Regions from separate parts of the Homo sapiens genome. Here region 2 is linked to region 1. The links are contacts of gene promoters, found by promoter capture Hi-C in human tissues and cell types (Jung and others, 2019). All regions are on one chromosome and are shown on one strand. The core of a region is centred on a gene start or on the middle of the fragment in contact, and the rest is flanking DNA. Distances in the headings are between cores, read along the strand shown.

Region 1 (6,692 bases), core at 2,123-4,622:
GCCAACACAATTTTTAGGATCCTTTTTGAGGGGAGATTGGCAAGAGATGGAAGAGAGTGCAGAATAATTTTGAGCATGAATTTTAATCATTTCTCTACAATGACTAGCTTTGTGACCACAGGCAATCTAGCATCCCAGGGCCTCAGTTTCCTCATCTTTGAGTATGTCTGCATTCTCCTCAAGACTGTGATTATCACCAGGGTGAGAAGCGTGAATGGCACAGTGCTTGGTATAAGCAGTGCATGGCTGATAGCTGTTTGCTGATGGCTAAGAGATGGAAAACGACCTGGTTGTAGCCGACATCACAATGAAGAGACTCTTCTTTCTAATGTGGATAAAGCTTCTCCTGTATCTGCCTTCCTCCTAGTAACACTGACTAAAATGTAATGCTGACTACCTAGATCACAAAGAAGAATTTTCTACAGAAGCCAAACAAGGCCATTGTTTACATGCCACATGTGCTAAGTCTCAATCTTGACATTCCCCAATCCAACTTCCTGGCAAATATTGTTTGACTTAGGGAACTGAGTTAACAGATATTGAACATACGGCTGTTGAGTACCTTCACTTATCAGTGGGCCAAGAAAAAAAATGCCAGGAACCCAATTATATTTGAATCAGATTAAATATCTATGTTTTGATCCACATCTGGTGATATAGTTATAGGAATTTAACTTTTTGAAGGACTGGTTACTGAAGGCCCATTGGGCAGCTTTAGAACTGCATTACCTTGAGAAAGTGTTGTAACTTCTGAGCGCCCTCGCCAGCTTGTTAATTTGAACCATAATGACTGCCTCCTCCTTTGCAGGGCTCATATGGAGTTCATCTATGTGTATGCAGGCTCTTTGTAAATAGTGAATGTCTACAAATATAAGTGATTATTATTATGCTTTTTATACCTCCTGTAGGTGTTTGCTGGTCATGGACTGATTGACTTTTTCCAACATTATGATTCCTATGTAACTGATCTCCTGAAATATCTACCATCTCCACCTATAAAGGAGATTAAATTTTAGGGAGTAAAGTCACTTCTCTTGCTATCCTGCTTATCATTACTTATGATTAGGCAGAATTCTGCTGGTTAAGATATGATTCCAGGGAGGCCTAGAAGAGTCCTTCTGTGTGCTTCTTTCCCAAATATATTCCTGACAAACTTGCTAATAATGAAAAGTTCCAAAATTGGGAATTCACTTCATTGTCACTATTCTAATGGAATTACACTTTAAGCTCTACCATTTATATACACGTTATTATGAACTGAGTTCATCTAATCATTTTAATAGGTTTTCAACAGAGGGAAGAAAATTGAACATGAGCTAATGGTAGGGACCAAAGTCTCAGAGAACAAGAACTCTGCAACTGCTAATAAGAGAATTTTTGTCTCTGTAGCTGGTGAAATATTTGAATGATATCCAATGATTAATGTTTCTTTAATTCTCTAGGTGACCAAAAATCACACAGAATTATCTAGCAATAAATCCTCTTTACATAACAGCCAAAGCACTTGGGGTTGAGGAAAGAGAAGAGAAATAGGTCTTACCCAGCAGGTCTGGTGTCTTCAATGGCTCTATCCACTGGGATCAAATCGCTAAGGTAGACATTGAAGTTTCCTTCTTTCCATCTTCTTTCTGCCTCCTTCTCCTTTCCATGGGGGACAACTACAGGACGCCCAAACTGCCCTGGAGCTTTGGGGTCCCTTGGAGAAAGTGTCACATCAATTCTTAACACCTGGTGCGTTCCACTGTCTTCAGGTAAAAGGGCTTTTATATGACTCTGGTTGTATTCTGTAGAGGGGGCTTTGGCAGTTATGTTGATTTTTGCTGGCTCTAGCCCTCCAGTTAAAGCATGGTTAGTTTGGGACAGTGGCACTCTATGTGGAGCAAGTGAAGAGGAAGACATCTCACTTCTATTCCTGGAAATGTGTTTACTTTGGCTTTTACCCAATACTTTAGGAAATATTGTTTTGGTTTTAGAATTAGAGACCTCTTTGGGGTCTGCCTTTTGCTCTTCCTCTTTGGTTATAATCACAAGATGGCTTTCAGAGAAATTGAGTTTCTTCCCATGAGCCCCTCTAGCTCCATCATCCTTTGACAAACTTCCCAAAGGTGTCTCATTAATAGATTGCTTCCTTAAGCGATTTGAATTGACAGTGAACTTAGGAAAAGGAAGACTCGTATTGGCTTTGTGTTTATTTGCATTGACTTCTTTGCTCTGAGTCTTAGTTTTGTTTAAGGCCATGGCTTCCCCAGACTTCGGCACTGCTGTGCTGGCAGGGTGTGCCCTCTCGTTTGCTACTGCCTGTGATCGCTGCTTTGGTCTATCAGTACTAAGACTGATGGTCACATTCAAGTCCCTTTCAGCTGCTAGTTTTGATGTGTCACTGCTGGGACTATGACTCTTCCGGGGCTCCTGTTTTAAACTGACACGTCCCATGTGTACTGATATTTTGACTACCTGAGTTCCTTTTGCTGCTATGAATGAGGTCTTTGGAGCCCCCTGAGCTGTCGTTTGCTTTGGTGTCCCCTGGTGAGAGGAGGCTTCAGGTTTGGTGCCTCTCCCGTCTGTCTTCTGCTTGTTAGGAGTCACAGGGAGGGTCTGCAGATGTGCAGGATGCCACAACGGCACAACCTTGCCCCTTCCCAGGGCATTCTGCATTTTTCTTTCCCTCTGGGTTTGGTCCAAGTCCACCTCAACCTTGAGCACACTCTCCTCAGTTTTTCTAACATTCTCTTTGCCCCATGCCCCTTTCCCATGTCCCCTTAGGGGAGGTTTCATCTCTTTTATGCTGCTGTAAAAAATTTTTCCTTGGTCTGGCTGAACTCTGAATCCTATCCGCTCCCTCCTCACAATGTCTTCCTTGATGACCCGAGTGTTGATCTCACTGAATGAGAGGCGGAGAGCTGCCATGTCAAAGAGGAGCCAGATGACAGAAGCTACAAAGATAAATGCCAAGACTCGCCCACTTCCTCGGAAAAACTTTCGGATCCTGTTCATGGTACAAAGCTTTCCCTAGCAGCCTGCCCTCCCTTAGCCTGCTTACCTTGAGTGGAGAGGAAGCTGAAGTAGCAGCAGCAGCAGCAGCAGCAGCAGAGTTGCCAGAAAGTGACCCCCTCCCCTGAACACAGCAGGAAGCAGCAGTCCAAGGGGAAAGCTCAGTTCCTACCGCTTGTCAGTCTCTGCCTGCGTGGCATTTCATAGCAGAGCATCTGTGCCTGCTTGGCTGGCCCTGGCTAAGTTCTGATAAACACTGGCCTTAGGTCACTCCAGGAGCAGTTGATTCCAGCCACCGAACAGTTCAACATATCACTTGTCTTGTCTCCGGGAGCCCATGTCCACCTTCCTACAAGCCCAAGAAAAGGTGGGGGCCAGATTGAGACTGCCGTTTCTCTCCTCCCCGTTCTCCGTCTGCACGCTGTAACTCAACACCACTTCTCATAAGGAAAACATTTCATGCCATTACCCAGAAAACTTCATTCAGCTCTCACCTTCTGTGTTATGTGAGAGCATGTGTGTTTAAACGGCAATTAAAGAGGAAAAAAAGCTATCTAACTTGGAGGGCATGTGTTCCTGGTTTGTGACCCCACCTACCCTACTCCTGCTCATTAACCCTGTTGTAGCCAGGTGCCAATGCTCTGCCTGAGGAATTTATCACTGAAGTTAACATTTCAGCTTTAAGACATAACAGCTTAAAGAAGGGGCCTGGTATATCCTCACTTCCAGAGATGTATATGTTTAATTATTTAGATCATTCATTCAAGGGGTTTCAATGTATTTCTTTGTAAGCCAACTATTTTTTTTTCACTAATCCATCTGTTTTTATTATTACATTTGATTACAAATAAACTTAATTTGTCATACTGCTATAAAAGTTTCTAAACACTTTGTTATGGTCTGAATGTTTATGTCCACCCAAAATTCATATGTTGAAACCTAATCATAAATGTGATAGTATTAGGAGGTAGGGCTTTTGAAGGTGATTTCATTATAAGGATAGAGCCCTCATGAATGGGATCAGCACCCTTAAAAAAGAGGCCCTATTGCCTTGCCATTCCACAAAGTGAAGACATAATGAGAAGGTGCCATCTATGAACCAGGAAATGGGCCTTCACCAGTCAACGAATCTGCTGGTGCCTTGATTTCTGACTTCTCAGTCTCTAGAACTGTGAGAAATAAGTTTCTGTTGTTTATGAGTCACTTAGTCTATGTTATTCTTCTATAGTAGCCTGAACAGATTAAGATACACTTACTCTCAGTTTCAGTACTTATCTCGTCTTAAACCAGCAAGCAACAGTTTCAGGACCACACCAGGACTTGGACCAGATTTTGAGTGATGCTGGTTGACTGGTAGGGTAGCAGTTCCGCCACAGGCTTTTCATTAGAACCACTTGAAACAAGATCCCCAAAACTCTGGTCAATTGATGAGAGAGGAGGTGGAGATGACATTTGGGCTGATATTGTATTAAATATATATATATATATATATATATATATATATATATATATATATTTTTTTTTTTTTTTTTTTTTTTACAAAGCTTCCCAGGTCTTTCAAATGTGCAGCTAAAGTTGAGAAACACTGGTCTAGAAAAAAAGTCTCAATTTTTTGTTTGTTTGTTTTTGGTTTTTGAACATTGCCTATGAGACATTTAATTTTAGGTGTCTACTTGACTGGGCTAAGGAACACCCAGAGAACCAGTAAAGCATTATTTTTAGGTATATCTGTGAGGGTGTTTCCAGAAGAGATTGGCATTTGACTCAGTGCACTGAGTGGGGAGGAGATGCCCTCACCCAATGTGGGCAGGCACCACTAATTGGTTGAGGGCCCAGATAGAAAAAAAGGCAGAGGAAAGGTGGATTCTGTCTCTGTTAGTGAGCTGGGACATCTTTCTTCTTCTGCCTTTGGACTAGAACTTTAGATTCTCTGGCTTTGGCCTCTGGGGCTTGTACCAGTCTGCCCCCACAACCTCCACATCCCTCACTAGGTTCTCAGGCTTTTGACCTCAGACTGAGAGTGATGTTATTGGCTTCCCTGGTTCTCAGGCCTTTGGACTCAGAATGTGCCATGTTACTGGCTTTCCTGGTTCTCCAGCTTGCAGGTGGCCTGGACTGAGGTTTCTCAGTCTCCATAACCACATGAGCCAATTCCTGTAATAAACTGCAACTCACTTATCTACCTCTATGAATCCTATTGGTTCTGTTTCTCTGAAAAATCCTGGCCAATACAGTCTACAACTTGTGTGACATTCCTTCCCTGTCTAAAGTACAGTCTAATAAAATCTATGCATTCCCATAACAACTAAATCAGAATACACATTTTGACATTGCCAGTTGTAAAGATTGTCCATAGAGTTTGAGAAGCACTTCTCGGGACCACTGTCCTTCTCTCTGAGGAACTCTGAGTGATTTGTGGACAACACTGCTGTTCATTACTCTAGTGTGGGGAGGGTCTAGCTTCCATGCTTTGAGGTAAACTTATGTTCCCAATGACTTGGGAGGGGAAGGAGAGATTCCAAATTCATATATATATCTCAAGCACTTTGCTAAGTTCTTTCCATTGACTATCTCACTCAATCCTCACAAGAATCTAATGTGAAGGAGTAAATTACAATATGTATTTTGTAGTCAGCAAATGAAACCTTAGAGAGGTAAAGCAACTTCTGGTAGAGATTGGAGGGGTTGGGTCTTGAATACACGACTGTAGTCCGTGTGCTTCAATATCACACAATACTGCTCTCTAGCTGTATGATCTTGCAGGCTAGTTAATTTTATGTGGTTACTGAGCAATAAAAAAAAATTCTGCTTTGCAGATTAATGTGAGAATATTTAAAAATGGTTAAAGTTATTGTTATATTGAAGGTACTCTTTAAATGTTAGCCATTCATATTGTTGCTAATACTTTGCTGTAATAGGAGTGTCGGATGCATGTGGGAGGCAATGTACCAGCTCTTCCCAAAAAAACAAGTAGAAAACTAGTGACTAACATGATTCTGGCAATGGGGAAGAAACAAATCTGAGTATTTTATTTTATTCTTGCCATTCTTATTTCCTCTAATTATAGATTTAACAAGACCATTGTTCACTGAGAACTCCCTACATGCCCAAAACATGAAGTAGGTGACATTGTCTCTGCCCCTAACAACCTTAAAACTCCCCTCAGTAGAACGCCACCAGTATAATAATAATAATAATAAAAAAAGAACGCCACCAGCAAAAAACATAGCACACATCTTTAGCATCCACATTCGAAAATAAAGTGAGAATTTTTTTTAGCATCATGGATAAATGGTTTGCATTACAATATTGTTTTAAACATGAAAATAGAATACTTTAAAATTATTTTACTCTGCATGATTCAATCTTGTCCAGCCACCATCCCACCCCAAATGGCAGTTGGAATTACTCAAATGTCTTTTAGGAAAGTCAACACTTGTTATATTCTATGCTTGGCAGTTTAAAACACTGCTTGAAATATATTCTTGTTTCCATATAAATTTTATCAAAGAGTACTGATTTCTTTTTATCCCTCTCTGGTTTGTCCTTGCGAATCAAAACACAAATTACTTGCAACAGGAGAGCAACATGTTAAGAAAATTAAAAGGGAATCTTGGCTTATCTATCATGGGTAAAGCAACACATTAACTCTGGCTTAGTCTTCGGTCTATTTGACATACAATTCAGAATGAAATGTGAAG
Region 2 (6,692 bases), core at 2,453-4,952, 940 kb after region 1:
GTCCAGGCGACCGCCACAATTTCTTTCGGTGCCCTGCTGGCCTTCCGCTGTGGATGGGTGGATGTGTGTGTGTGTGTGTGTGTGAGAGAGAGAGAGAGTATTTGGGGTACTGATTCTCACAAGAGAGATATGTAAGGCCCAGGGAGCCGATGGCGCCCTGCAGTGACAGCGGCACCCAACGACCTTGTGTATTTCTTTCTGGCACTGGACTCCATTCCTAGATAGTTTAGGTGGCTCCTCCCCTAAAAAACACCGGTCATAAGTCTTACGGGCCACTGGTTCTCCGCATGCAAGGAGCACAACAAGGAGATATAGATATTCTTGCAAACTTAAGAATGTCATTTGAAGGTTCAATTTCACTTTGTTTGGAGAATCTCTTGGCTTTCTCGGTGTCAGTGCGTCACCGAGAATATCAAATTATCTAATTGTATTTTAAACCTAGGCGTCGGCATTGCAGAAATGTTTCCAAGATACAAACAGATCTGTGAGGGAAAAGTTTAATTTCATTGCAATATTTTGATCACAGAGTTTTCCAGTACAGGATACAATTCCATCTCGCCAGGTCCTATACAGGGGAGTGACACCAGAGCACTTCTAGGCATCGCGCGTGTTGCGCGTCTTCGAGCCACCAGTTCCCCGCCTCGCGTCGCACGCTCGTCCGTTTCCTTTTGTATCCGCCGCGCGGCAGCGCCGAGGTGCCGAGAGTAAAGGCTGGGGGGCTCCCTGCCTGGGCCTCGCCTCTCTCTGTGGAAGACGCGCTTGTCTCAAGCCCCGATGCTCTCAAATCCAGGTCAAAAATGGAGACCGTTTCCCTCAAGGTGGAAGGGGAAAGGAGAGTATCTATTCTTGGAGATTTTAAAACTTTTTCTCAGTATTATTTTCACTATTGAATAGAGGTCTGGAAGTGAGTTTCTCATATATTCTTCTCCAAAGGAGGTTGTAAGGTCCCCTCTCCATTTGTCCCCGCTGTCAGAATAGGAATGCTTGCATAGTGGCCGCACCCCGGAATTTCTCAGGATTCCAAGCTTCCCAGGCAACTATGGGCTGGGACTGACTCAATTTTGGAGTCTCATGGAGGAGGAAGAGGGTTTGGGGTCTCAGCCGACGCCCAGTTAACCCTTCTTCCCCATAGGGCTCAGCCACAACTTAAAAAAAAAAGCGCACCCAATTCCAAGTCTTCGGGAAAGGTTCTGCTTAGATCGGTGCATCCGACAGAACTCGAACCCGAGCAATCACGTTTCGCACCCCTGCATTTATTGTGTTCAGTCGATACTGGCTGACTGCTCGTAAAGCAAGATATGAATTCCAAACAGGTCATCACTTTTTAGTAATTCGTTTTTAATAATAAAATGAACATATGGAAATCCCCATTTTACTTTTAAATTTTGCTAGAAACCAAAATATTGCACATAACTATTTAGGATGGCAAGACTGTGATTTAAAGTCATTTTCCTTTAGTATGTTCCCCGAGACCATTAGGAGCGACAGCTGGGGCCGCAAGAAAGATCTTTCCTCCGACTTTGACTTTGCCTTTCCTTAGGAAAAGTCCAGCTTCCGTCGGAGGGCGCCTGGTGGGGCGGTCCTGACGCGGGAAAGCAGGGCCCCACCCCACGCTGGGGGCGCTCGAAGAGAGCGGCAATTTTGTTCCCTAGCCGCGAAGTGCGCTCTGGGCCCTGCAGACAGTGGCGGGAGAATTCCAGAAAGCAGGGTTCTTGCCGCGTACTCCCCACCCCCACCCCCACGCCTTCTTATTAGTCACCCCCCAACCCCTCCTCCCAGCATAGTCTTATTTCGAGGCTTCGGAATTACTGGAGAGGACTTGTGTCCGCGATCCGCCCTGCGGCGAAAATGGAGACACAAGCCCTCCTGCTCTGCCCACTGCGTTTTGGAGACGTAGTTTGACTTTGCGGCTTGCAGTCGTAGACTTTGCGGAGAGAGCCTTGGAGCAATTAGGACGCATTCACTTGGGTGAACTTTGTTTCCTCGGTGTCCCTCCCTTTCCTCCCCAGCTGCTCCCTGCGTCTTCCTCAGCTGTTCTACACCCCCCCGCCCCCCACCCTCAGGGCGAAGGCTGCAACAGGCTGCCGTCGCCTCTAGGTCGCGTCTGTTGCGCTAGGGCACGAGCACAGGAGGCGGAGCGCGTCTCCTGCTTCTCCCTGCACCCAACGATTTCCGGTCAGTCTCTGGTCTCTTGGAACGCTGAGCTGGACTGGGGCGACCTCCCACGCGACACTGGGGAAAACTCTTTTTCTAGTGGTGAGGGCGCACAAAAGGGCGGGGCAGAGGCGCGTCCGCACCTCGTGGAGGTCTAGGAGAGGGGCCCAGACGCCCATGCCACAACCATGCTCCACACGTGTGCTCACGACCCAAAGCTCTGAAGATAGATTGTGCGTTCCCGCCCTGCTTTCAGGTCTCCTCGCAACGCATGTAATGAGCCCTAGGCCTGCGAGCGCTGGAGCGAGCGTCTAGTCAAGTGGCCAGATCAGGGCTGCGCCTGTAGGGGCCTTGGGGCCGCCTGTACGCTTATCTTCCCGCGGCTGGGAGCGCTCCTTCTTCTCTACAAGATGCTGACTGCGGGCCGCTCGCTGCCCTCTTCTCGGCTTAGCTGAACCCTGTCGCGCCGAGTTTAACTAGACACAGCGCCGAGCCGGCACCTGGATCCTAGCAGAGCTCAACTTCAACGCTTTTCTCCTCATTTCTTCTTCCCACACTTAATCTTTCTCACTCCCATTTTTTCTTATTTCTATCTCAACCTGTGTTTAGATAAACTAGGATTTCCAGGACATGTGTCACCCGTTCTAGCAGATACAATGCCCAAGTTTCTGCTAGAGACGTCCCTGGTACAGTAGAGGGCGGCTGCTGCGAGTGTGAGAAGTCTTTCATCGGGTACTAGAGGGACTTCCAGAGGGATTGAGTCTACCACAATTTCTTGGCTCTGGAAGCTTGGACAAGAGGATTGTTTTGACAGACTCAAATTAAATTGGGATTTCGAGAAGGGTAAGGACAGAGAGAGGACTCCTCATCAATAAGCTGCAAATAGGCCAGTGTTTTTCAAACTGAGGGTCCTGACCCATTAGTGGTTTTCAAAGATATTATATTGGGTTGCCATCAGAATTTTCTTCTAAAGAAATGAAAGAATAATAGAATAGAAATTATGAGGGCTTTGCAGGATAGCAAAAATATAAGACGTCTAAGCATTGTTTGCTGCAATTTTTCTTGGGTGACACTATGAAATATATTTATGGGGGGGTCTCAGTTAAAAAGGTTGATAGTGTCACTACTGAGGACCAATTGTACATGAAGTGAGAGAAAGGGCTGCCTTTATTGAGAGATACTGATAAGGGAATCTCAGCACTGTGGTTTTCTTTTCTTTTCTTTTTCTTTCTTTCTTTTCTTTTCTTTTCTTTTTTTTTTTTTTTTGAGATTGAGATGGAGTCCTCGCTCTGTCGCCCAGGCTGGAGTGCAGTGGTGTGTTCTCAGCTCACTGCAGCCTCTGTCTCCCTGACAGGTGCGGGCACCCCACCCAGCTTTTTTTTTTTTCTTTTTTGTGTGTTTCTAGTAGAGATGGGGTTTCACAGTGTTGGCCAGGCTGGTCTCAAACCCCTGACCTCAGGTGATCCACCTGCCTTGGCCTCCCAAAGTGCTGGGATTACAGGTGTGAGCCACCATGCCTGGCCTACTACTGTGGTTTTCTGGCCAGTCCTCTTTCTTCACTCTGGTTTGTTCGTTTTTGGTCACCACTCCAATGGACTTCTGTATCTCTTTATCCTCTGGCCTGTTATCTGCTTGAAGCCAGGTGGGTGTCATAAGGAAGGGCCAGGGGGACAAGCACATAAGCACATGTAGCCACCCCCTTTTCATCTTCCTCAGCAACCTGGTACCTGGGAAGAGAGTGAACAGCAAAAAAGGCATAGAGGAAAGCTAGAGAAAAGGGATGGTAGTGAATGTCCCATTGTCCATGTCACAGGCCTTCTCATTTATATGCTATTGCCAAACAAGAAGGAGGAAGCAAAAGCTTTTGGGGGAAATGGGTAGAGATAGGGATGGATAAAGATAATGAACCATACTGTGAATGATCAGGTGAGCAGGGACTGATAAGTTGGAAGAGGAGGAGGCAATTTAGAGGATTTATTTAATCAGAGTCCTAGAGTTGAAGGCAGAGATGAGAAGGAGAGGACTAAAATGGCCAGGGTGCCAACAATAATGTGAATGAGTTTAAAGTAAGAAGAGATCTATGGAAGTGAATAAAAAGGGCACATGGAGGATGCTGGGTGCTGGGCAGGCAGGTAGGTATAAGGTGAAAGTTGGATATAGAGGCCATAGCAAGACTATGTTAGGAGAGTGTGGCTCTAAGTATGGGAAGCTCTGGGCTAATGAGGACCACACAGATGTTTCAAGGTGTCATAAAGGAGTCAAAAGGAACAAAATCATTGGCATGGAAACTTGCATTTCCTATAATTCCATTCTAGTCAGAGAGCTTGTTTCCTAAGAGGTGCTGCAATCTTTAGGCAGGGGTGATGTGGACTCCTTCAAAGATTTGGGTCATTGTGAAGGGCAGAAGCAGGTGGCAGACGGAGGACACATTCCATGGTTTCTGACATTCCTCCATTACAATAACTCTGTCTACTACATGTTGCAATTCCAGATATCATATCATATAATCATCTCAACTCCAAATATGACGTTGGCACTGTTATTTCCATTTTACAAATGAAGAGATGAGGTTGAGAGGTATCGTTTATTATCTTGGCCTATAAGTACATGGAAGAGTTGGAATTCGAACTGAGAGCCAGGATATGAACTTACAAGTGCCTTGCTTTAGCACTGCCTGTCCCAGAAGGATTGTACCTTTCTGCTTCTCCAGAAACTAACTAAAGATTTTCTCACCTGCTGAGAGTTGAGGATGTTGCTTCAGGCATGTTCAGACTTCTGGAGGGGAGCATTGACCTGAAACCACAGTGGGGTAAGTGATAATAGCATAATCTTCTTCTCGCTGAAATTTTAAAGAAGGGATTATTTTCATTGCTTTTCGTAGTTTATGGGTGAAGGAGTTCTGAGTTGCTTGCTTTGCTGCCCAAGAAAAGAGTGGGAATGATTGCTGCGTGTGTTTATGCCATTGAGAAAGTCATATTAAAAGTAGTAAAAAAGAAAACTGTTTTTCATCCTCAAGCTGTTTGAATTCCCTTATATTAATCATGTGAGTTTTCAGCAAGCTTCTAGGTTTCCTATCAGGAAAACCAAATTGCATATTAGTTAGTTCACAGTCCTGAGCAGGCCACTTTGTAAAAATGAAAAGCTGGCTATGCATGAACCTTTTATTCTTTCTTCTACTTCTTCTATATTTGTGGTAGACAGTGTTTAGCTGTTATTAACATTTTCTTAAGAGCTACTCTCACAGTCTAACAAATGGTATAAATAGATTTTGCTTAGACAGTCAAGCAGAGAGTAATATTTATTCAGAAGACTGTCTGCATCTAACTTGGTGTGGTCAAAGGGTGGCAAAAATAGTCTTATTATATTATAAAATTTATTAGAATATACATACTTGACAGACAAAACATAGTGGATTTAGATCAGCTGTTTGCTTATACAATAGATTTTGTTCGTCTTTTGACATTTAATTTAAGCTTCACTTATCTGAGGGCTGGAAGTAGGATAAGTATGTTCTGCATGTGTTATGCTTCTTGTTTTATAAGACTTACTTGTCTGCAGTTATCCGGAAATAATTCATAATCAGTGATTTAGGGACAAGGAAGCCTTGTGACATGTTCTCAAAGTGTCTTTCTGAAATGAAGTTCTGAAAAGTTGAATTATGGAGACCCTAACAGGGGTTTCTATTTTTGAGGAATGAAGATAGCTACATTTGCTTTCTTGGTCTTTTGACTAATTATCCTCCCTGCATACTGAATTGATACAGTTAAAAACAAGCTTCTAACAAATCCATAATGAATCTATTCGGTGCCAGGAGTCTGTGTTCTGTGTAATTGTCCTGCTCTCAGAAATGCTGGGCAGAATTCTCTACATGGGCCACATGTGTGGAAATGACATAGAAAACATTTGACACATCAGTGACTTATTTTTAATATATCTGAGAAAAATAAAGTCCGCTGCTGTAAAATCTGCACTTGTAGATGTGTGAGCCCTAAATAACCTTTAAAATTGGTCGTGGTGTGGTGGGAGATGTTGGTATTCATGAGTGTTTTGACATGTTTGACATTTTATGTATGGTGCACTGCTCTGTCTGTCTTGCATTTTTTCCCCAATAGTGCATATTTTCTTACTAAAATTCAGCTTTTGGTGTTTATATTTGGGGTTTCCAAGTCTGCTTATTGGATGAATGATTTGCTTGTTACTTATGCGAATAATGTTTTAATGAATTAGGTTACTATTGATTTTTACACTATAAGCATAAAAGAGGAATTCATAAAAAAGATAATTTTGATTTTAAAAGAAGCAATATATGATAAAATATATTCGATAAGTGCCACATATCTCCAACTTGCAGTGGTCCTCAGTTAGTAAATAAGGAAAAGCAATTCTATGGAATGATTATGCTCTCTGGAGCCAAGGAATTTGTGCACCTGAATCTTGGGTAGTGAATATAGATTTTAAAAATCTGTCTGAGCAGCATTTAAATTTGTCCTCCATTTATATTTGGAAGGGACAAAAGGGTCCCTAGTAAAGAATTGTCA

The links. Contacts are between HindIII fragments. The study calls those that stand out against the background at their distance.
Region 2: a fragment that was not itself captured here is called in contact with the fragment with the promoter of GALNT5 in region 1 in 1 of the 25 tissues and cell types used here (dorsolateral prefrontal cortex).

What each region holds. Positions count from the first base shown.
Region 1 is chr2:157,254,385-157,261,076 of GRCh38, reverse strand. GALNT5 (polypeptide N-acetylgalactosaminyltransferase 5) reads right to left here and starts at 3,372. Exons shown (of 10, transcript NM_014568.3): 1 at 1,541-3,372. The coding sequence starts at 2,994. The HindIII fragment of the contact is 4,009 bases long and covers 1,673-5,681 here.
Region 2 is chr2:156,315,698-156,322,389 of GRCh38, reverse strand. No RefSeq gene overlaps it. Among named protein-coding and RNA genes, the nearest start is that of NR4A2, 14 kb to the left of the region's middle. The HindIII fragment of the contact is 3,436 bases long and covers 1,985-5,420 here.